Linked DNA regions of Homo sapiens: region 2 is linked to region 1. Evidence: promoter capture Hi-C in human tissues and cell types (Jung and others, 2019). All regions are on one chromosome and are shown on one strand. Each heading gives the region's core, a stretch centred on a gene start or on the middle of the fragment in contact. The rest is flanking DNA. Distances are from core to core; before and after follow the strand shown. Region 1 holds the start of IL17REL (interleukin 17 receptor E like). Region 2 holds the start of TTLL8 (tubulin tyrosine ligase like 8).

Evidence for each region. Contacts are between HindIII fragments. The study calls those that stand out against the background at their distance.
Region 2: a contact is called between the fragment with the promoter of TTLL8 here and the fragment with the promoter of IL17REL in region 1, in 1 of the 25 tissues and cell types used here (H1 embryonic stem cells).

What each region holds. Positions count from the first base shown.
Region 1 is chr22:50,010,616-50,014,396 of GRCh38, forward strand. It overlaps IL17REL (interleukin 17 receptor E like), which reads right to left and starts at 2,150. Exons shown (of 15, transcript NM_001371417.1): 1 at 1,930-2,150. The coding sequence starts at 2,031. RefSeq lists silencers at 141-460, 471-520 and an enhancer at 2,035-2,635. The HindIII fragment of the contact is 6,785 bases long and covers 1-3,781 here.
Region 2 is chr22:50,056,596-50,060,149 of GRCh38, forward strand. It overlaps TTLL8 (tubulin tyrosine ligase like 8), which reads right to left and starts at 1,703. Exons shown (of 14, transcript NM_001350317.3): 1 at 1,559-1,703; 2 at 274-378. The coding sequence starts at 340. MLC1 (modulator of VRAC current 1) reads right to left here. Exons shown (of 12, transcript NM_015166.4): 12 at 2,796-3,554. The HindIII fragment of the contact is 29,458 bases long and covers 1-3,554 here.

The sequences.
Region 1 (3,781 bases), core at 900-3,399:
AGAGGCGAAGGGCGTCTGCTCTCTCTCCTGACTTCCTGGACTCTGAAGCCCACCCAGGGCTGGCCCCGTGGCCCGAGTGTCTGGGGCTGCAGGAGAAGCCGCTGTCGGGGGCGCGGAACGTCGCGCGGTTCTGCCCCGCCCCTGCCCCACGGCACGGGGAGCGGGACCCGGGCGCGCTGGGGGGAAGGTGGGGGGAGCGGGGGCGGGGGGGGGCTGAGCCCGGGCGCTGGGCGCCTCCCCCGCACGGGGTTTTCCGTCGTGCTTCTCGGGGCTTCCCAGCGGCCGGCGTCGGGGGGTGTGCAGGGAACCCCCAGGGCGGCTGCTCGCGGCCCCACCCCGCCCAAGCTCCCCTGCATGCGGCCCAGCCTCCCGCCGTCACCCGCGCGGGTCCCCCCCCAGGGCGCGGCTGTAGCCCCAGCCTCCCCTCCCTGGCTTCCCCCCGCGGGCAGGGGCTCCCGCGCCCCCTCGCAACCACCGCCCTGTCCAAGGCTGCCCAGGCAGCGCCCCTACACCCACCTCCAGCTTCCCGCTCCTCTTGTCACCCCTTGACCCCTCCTGCTCAACCCTCCCCACCCCATCTTCCATGAGACCCTCCCTCAGCCCCGCCAAACCCCTCCTCTCCTCTCCCCTCCAGCACTTCCCCTCCTTCCTGGCCTCTTCCACCCGCCTCAGCCCCTGCCCTTGCCCCTGCCCCTTTCCTTGGAGTACTGAGGGTTCAATCTTGGTCCCCACCCATTCCCCAGGATCACCTGGCCGTCCTAGCGTGGACAGCGCGGTCACACCTCGGACCGGGAGGCTGCCTGCATACCCCGCAGCCGCCTCAGCAAAGCTTTCCAGCTTGCACTTCAAGGCCGCCTCCCCCCATGTCTCCCAACTCAGGGACCATTTCCTCCCAGAGGCAAAAGTCGATTCTGAGGTCTCATCTCTCGCTTCTCCTTCCCCCTCCTAGCCAGGATCCCCAGGCCTGCCCCCTCCCTGTTTTCCATCTCCACTGCAGGGTGGCATCCGGTGGACACCCCTCCCACCTGAACCCGCCCATCTCCCCTGCTGCCACCGGTTCCCACGCATCCCAGCCTGCTTTCTTCCTTGTTCCACGAATGCCCTGTGGATCTGAGCCTGCCCATGGCACCCAGCACTCCAGCCCTTGCTGCTCCCCTCCCTGAGCTGAGCCCTCTGCTGGACCCGTCTCAGGCCCTGTGGAGCTGCTGGATGTCCCCGCAAGTGTCCCCTGAGGTGACCAGGCCACCACCCTAAAGGCACATCTTGCTAACTGCTGTCCCCATGCCAGGAACGGTGCACCCAGCAGGTCCTCAGTGAGTCCTCCCTTTCCGGGACACCTTCTGTGCCCTTTCCATGCCTGTGTCCCCACTGTGCCCGGCCAGCCTTGGGCACCGGGGCCCCTTCCTGGGATGCTGGGTACACTTCCTGCTGCAGGTGCTGATGAAGCGCCCTCTCCTGTAAGGCTGAGTGAGTGGGCTGTGCAGTGAGAGCCCTCCACCCCAACCCAGCCACCTCCACTGCCAACATCTCATTCTCAGCACGTTCTCCGAGTGTTTCCTTGGCAGGTGTCTACACAAGCCCAGGTGTTGCGGGCTCCCGATGGCTCAGAGCAGCCGAGCGGGGTGGGGTGGGAGCCCCGGATGGGCTTGCGGGCTGCCCTAGATTCTAACACAGCCTCCTTGGAGGTCACAGGTGGGTCCGAGGTGGGCTCACCCTGCCTTGAGCTTCCAGCAAACACTTCCCGGAGCAGCTCGGCAGGGTCAGGCCAGGTCTCCCATCCTTCTTTCACCAGCGCTGCCCTCGGACCCCCCAGGGCCCTGCAACCCCTCACCTGCTGATGTGCTGAGAGCGTCAGGCCAGACCCACCTGAGGAGAAACCAGGGCCTTATCTGCCACAGTGTAGGGGCCTAGGAGGAGGCAGGAGCTTACCTGAGAACAGGAGAGGCCACATTCTGTAATCCGGGGGATGGCCAGGCTCTGGAAAGTGCCCCAGGTCAGGCCCAAGAACGCGAGTGCTTGCCCAGCCAGCATCTGGCTGTGCAGTGAGAGCTCCCACTGGTAAGCGTGGATGTGAGTGGGGCAAGTTTGCAGGATGCCCTGTGGCAGCGGCTCCAGGCTGACCCTGCAGCTCCAGCCCCAAAGACAAACAGAGGGTGGAGGCTGCTCTTCACAGCTGGAGCGAGCGAGACACTCCCCCTCCCGGCAAAACAGGGCTCGCTTCACAGACAGCAGCCCGGGAGACTTTCCACCGCCTGGGGCCAGAAGACTGTGGCCAGACACTTGTGGAGTTTCTAGGTTTCCAAAGGAAGCATCCAGAAACCTTGGGGCCTTTGGGGTCCGAGGACACCCTAATGGGGTTCCCCACAGGGCGGCCACTGGTGCAGAGATGGCTCCAGGCCGGCGGGATAGGCTGCCGCCGGCGTGCACCTCCCTCAGGCATGCATGAGGCCAGGAGGGTAGACAAGGGCCCTGGAAAGCTGGCTGGGCTGGCAGAGGGGTGGAATCTGTCCTGGGCACTCATACCCCAGAGCCCCTGGCTTCAGCCCCAGCCCCTAAGGGGAGCCCTCTCCTAAGACCTGAGATTCCACCCAAGTCCCTGGCCTCCACCTCCCCTCAAGATGCAAAAGGCCACCTCCCCTGTGTGGTCCTCCCTATGAGCCCCCCCCCACTCCGGAGGGCACCCCCCGAGGCTGGGAACTCTGGGGCCCAGCCTCTGCTCAGGGAGCCGTTCTGTGTCATCTTCTTATTTGGAGCATCAAATGCATAGGAAAGTTTCTGGGCAGAAGCTTACTGCTTCCCATTTGCCTCCAGCCAGGGCAGGGGGTTGGAGAGAACCAGGGTGCAGTTCTTGGGTCCTCCTGGCTCCTCCCTTCCTGGACAGGCACAGAGGCTTCTGCACCTGCCTCAGGTTCTGGGAGGGCACTGCCCCACGTGTGTGTGTGTGTGTGTGTGTGTGTGTGTGTGTGTGTGTGTGTGTGTGTCTGTGTGTGTGTGGGGGGGGGATGGCGGGAGTTAATAGCTGGGGAGCCTGGGAGTGTCTAGCTGGGGTGTTCTGCCTGGAATACCCACAGGACACCCCAAGTGTGGAGGGCGGCACCACCCCCAGGCTGGGAGAGGCTGTGGGCCTCACACTGTGGGCTCGGGTAGTCAGGAGGGAGCTTGAGAAACAAGCTCTGGGGTTCGGTCCCAGGGGAGGGAAGGCGGCAGGGGCTGCTGTGACCGTGAAGTCCTCCCTCCCTCCCACCACCCCGCACTGCCCACCTCCCTGCCTCCTGGGCCAGCACCTCGACCCTGCCCCCGCCTGGCCTAGAGCCCTCCATGGGCTGGAACTTATGCACTCACTGCTGGGCAGAGTAGATGGGGCTGAGCCCGCCCCCTGCAGCAGCGTGCCTGTGGCCACAATGCCCTGGAGAGAGTGGCTAGTGCCAGCCTCCATGCCACGGCATGGTCAGCAGCAGGCAGGCACATTTGGGGGTGGCTCAGGACGGGCCACTGTCATCCCCTATCCCAGGCTGGCTGAGCTGTAAGACAGATACTCCAGCTGGGCCTCGCCCCTCAGCCTGGCCTCCAGCCCTCCTTATACCAGGGGACGATGGGGGCTGCTGTACTGTGGCAGGGGTGTCCCAGACGATGTCCATGGGCACGGCCAGCAGGATCATTGGGAAAGGACAAATGTCCCTCCCCCATGGGCCCACTCACACCCAAACCTCTCTCCAGGCCTCTCTGGGACAGGCCCCCACCACGACACACCCGTTGCCTGAAGGCGCCATCCCAGCGTGCC
Region 2 (3,554 bases), core at 453-2,952, 46 kb after region 1:
AGGAGAGCCCTCCACACCCACACGTTTAATTTCCCAGTTTCCCAGGAAGCTGGCCAGTGGGATCGGGGTACAGGAGGCAGGAGCCAGCGCCCCCCAACACCCCTGGGGTCCTCCGCCTGGACCGTCCAAGAGAAGGCGCCTGGTTCTGCAGCTCAGTGAAGTGCCTGCCCCCAGAGTCCCTGATTTCCTGGCAGCAGGCTGCAGCCAGCACTGCCTCTGAGCCCGGGCCACTCTGGGCGAGTGGCTGGCACACAGGCAATACACGATACCCACTATTTTCTTCTCTCCCGTCTCCATCTGAAGAAGAAGCCAACGATAGCCCCTTCCTCTCTGGTTCCATACTGGCCTCCGACAGCTTGCCCTTTGCTCCTCTGACCCCTAGAGGAGAGGGTGTGGTGGTTACAGGAAACTGGGAGGGTGTGGGGGGCTCTGGGGATGGAGAGGGTTCTGAGGCCCAAGCTGAGGGTCAGGTCTGGGGTTGGGGATCAGCTCTGGGGTTGGGATCAGGTCTGGGTTGGGGGATGAGGTCTGGAGTTGGGAGGTCAGGTCTGAGTTGGGGTCAGGTCTGGGGATGGGAGTCAGGTCTGGGGTTGGGGGTCAGGTCTGGATTAGGGGTCAGCTCTGGGGTTGGGGATCAGGTCTGGGTTGAGGGATCAGTTCTAGGTTGGGGTCAGGTCTGGGCTTGGGGGTCAGGTCTGGGTTTGGGGGTCAGGACTGGGTTTGGTGTCAGGTCTGGGTTGTGAGTCAGGTCTGGGTTGTGAGTCAGGTCTGGGTTGGGGGATCAGGTCTGGGTTGGGGTCAGGTCTGGGTTGGGCGGGAGGTCTGGGTTGGGGGTCAGGTCTGGGTTGGGGGTCAGGTCTGGGTTGGGGGATCAGGTCTGGATTGTGGGTCAGGTCTGGGTTGGGGTCAGGTCTGGGTTGGGGGGTCAGGTCTGGGTTGAGCGGGAGGTCTGGGTTGGGGGTCAGGTCTGGGTTGGGGTCAGGTCTGGGTTGAGGGTCAGGTTTGGGTTGAGCGGGAGGTCTGGGTTGGGGGTCAGGTCTGGGTTGGGGTCAGGTCTGGGTTGGGAGATCAGGTCTGGGTTTTTGGGGTCAGGTCTGGGTCGGGGTCAGGTCTGGGTTGGGGGTCAGGTCTGGGTTGTGGGCATCAGGTCTCAATTGGGGATCAGGTCTAGGTCGAGGGGGAGGTCTGGGTTGGGGGTGCAGGTCTAGGTTAATGAGGAGAGGTATGGGGTTCTGAAGGCAGAGGGGAGTGGACAGCTGTGGAGTTCCCAGAAGATGGGGGAAGGTGGGGAGAACAGCTCTGGGCTTTCGAGGGCGGGCGAGTGGGTAGAGTTGGGCAGGTTTAGTGGGGGAGTTCTGTGGTTCCGAGCTAGGCGGGTCTGGGATTCCTAGGGTAAGGGGTCTAGAATTTGGAGGCCCGGGGCGGGGAGGGGGTAGGCCTGGGTTTCCGGGTGTGGGAGGCGGGTCTGGGGTTCCGAAGGCAGATGGGGAGGAGGGGTCCTGTCCGGGATCGGAAGCGCGGACGGGCCTGGGGTTCCGCGGTCGGGGGTCGTGCTCACCGGGGACCGGGTCAGTGGCTCGCGCTGCGCCGCCCGGCTTCCTGGGGTTGCCTGGGACAACGTGCTGGGGCGGCCACGCGCATTGTGCACCCCCGGTGCGGCGGCTGCTGGGCCCGTGGCCTCGGGCTGTGCAGCGGCGGCGGCCCCGGGGCGTGGGGCTGCGCGGGCGGCGGGGGGCGCGGGGGCGCGGGGAGCTGCGGCGTGCGGGGGGCGCGGGCCCCGACGGGCAGCAGTCATCAGCGCTTGGGCTGGGCCCGGGTTGGGGTCCGGGTCCCGGGCTGCTGTCGGAGCAGGCGCGGCTGCGGGGTCGGCGGCGCGGGACGGTGCGCGCCATGGTGTCCGCCGGGGGAGGGCCCGAGTGTAGCCCCGGGTCACGCGCTGCGGCCCCGCGCCCCCCTGTGGAGGTCACACTCCATCCCCCACCAGGTCACAAAGACCCGCGGGTCACATCCTGCCCCTCCCCCTCGGGCCCCCCAGGCCCGCCAGGCCTTCTCGCCCTCCCCGGGGCCCTCATGCCGCCCTCTGTCCCTGGGCCCTTCCCCGACGCGAGGCTGGAGCGGCGGGGTGAGGAGGCCGCGGGCGCTGGGCTCCTCCCGGGCTGCGCGCTGCGGGTCCTGGCGGATGGGGGCGACGGGGTGACCGTATCAGCGCCCCCCGTCCTGCGGCGGAACTTGGGAGGGCCTTGGTATCCGCAGAACCACTCGTGGGGTCCCACGCCGCTGCCCCCCGGGGGGTTCTGAGCCCACCCAGGTCCACACGGCCCCTGTCGTTTCCCCCCGCACCCCGCGGATCACCCCGCCAGGGCAGCTCGTGTCTGATCTGGCATCTCGGAGTGGGGGTAGGAAAGACACACCTGCCCCACCAGGACCCTCACTCCTGGCAACTTTCCAAAGCCTAGATGTCTTCATTTGGTTTTAAATCAACTTTATTTTGCATTTAACTTCCCAAGACACCCCAAAAGGGAGGTTCTGCCCCGACTCTGAAGGGGCTGGTGGGGGACTTGAAGGGGGGGAGTGGGAGCGTCCCCTGGCGGGGGTGGTTCCCTTCCAGCTCCCTCCCTCTTCCCCGGGGAATGCCACTGGGCTCTCACCAGACCCCAGTACTGGCCTCTAGGGGTTACACAAATCAGTGAGTGAAAAGCTGGCCCTCCCTCCACCCGCCCCTCCTCCCTGTGTCCCGATGTTTTTAGACCTGAGTGAGCTGACGCTGCTGAGACACAATATTAAATAGCCACAGCCACGTCTGCAAGTCAGCGTTTATTGCTCAAGCGTATTAAACAAAAATGTAGACTGAAAGAGACAGTTCTTTTAAACCCCATTTTTCCGGATTTTTTAAGCGCTCTAAAATAAGAAAATAAGAAAGTGCAAGCCAGCAAAAACGCTCCAAGTGCCTAATTCTGACTCTGAAACTTGAGCTCTCTGGTCTGCCCCCAAGAAGACATCAGCCCGCCCCGGGTCGTCCCTGTGGCTCCCACCCCATTCCCAGGAGCAGACCCCGCCAGCCTCAAAGCTGCAGGGAGGTGGGGGTGGCCTGCAGACAGGGTGGGGTCTGCATCCGGTACCAGTGACAGCAGCCTCTCCTCTCCCACGGTGGCGCTTGTTTGGGGCTGTGGCCAAAGTGTTTGCCCGGCCCCTGACTGTGTCCTTCCGGAGCTGCCGAGGACTGCAGAGAGGGCCTGGCTTGTCCCCTCTAGGAGCAGCTGGGAAGGTGTCTTGCCTGCATCCCCCTTCAATGGTTGAAAATAATGATTCCACTTGTCATGAACACCATGAAGGTATCTTGGCAGCCAGAGTCACTCCTGTTCCGCAGTGGGAAACCTGGGAGGGTCCTCAAACCCCCTGGCAGGGTCTGCAGGCCGCCCCATCCAGCTGCATCTCCCAGGCCTCCTGGTTCTTTGATCTTGATGGCCCCAGGCCACAGATGCATCTCCGGGCCTTTCCAGCAGCCCATGGGGGACCAGTCAATACACCCCACGGCGGTGAAGAGAAAACGTTCA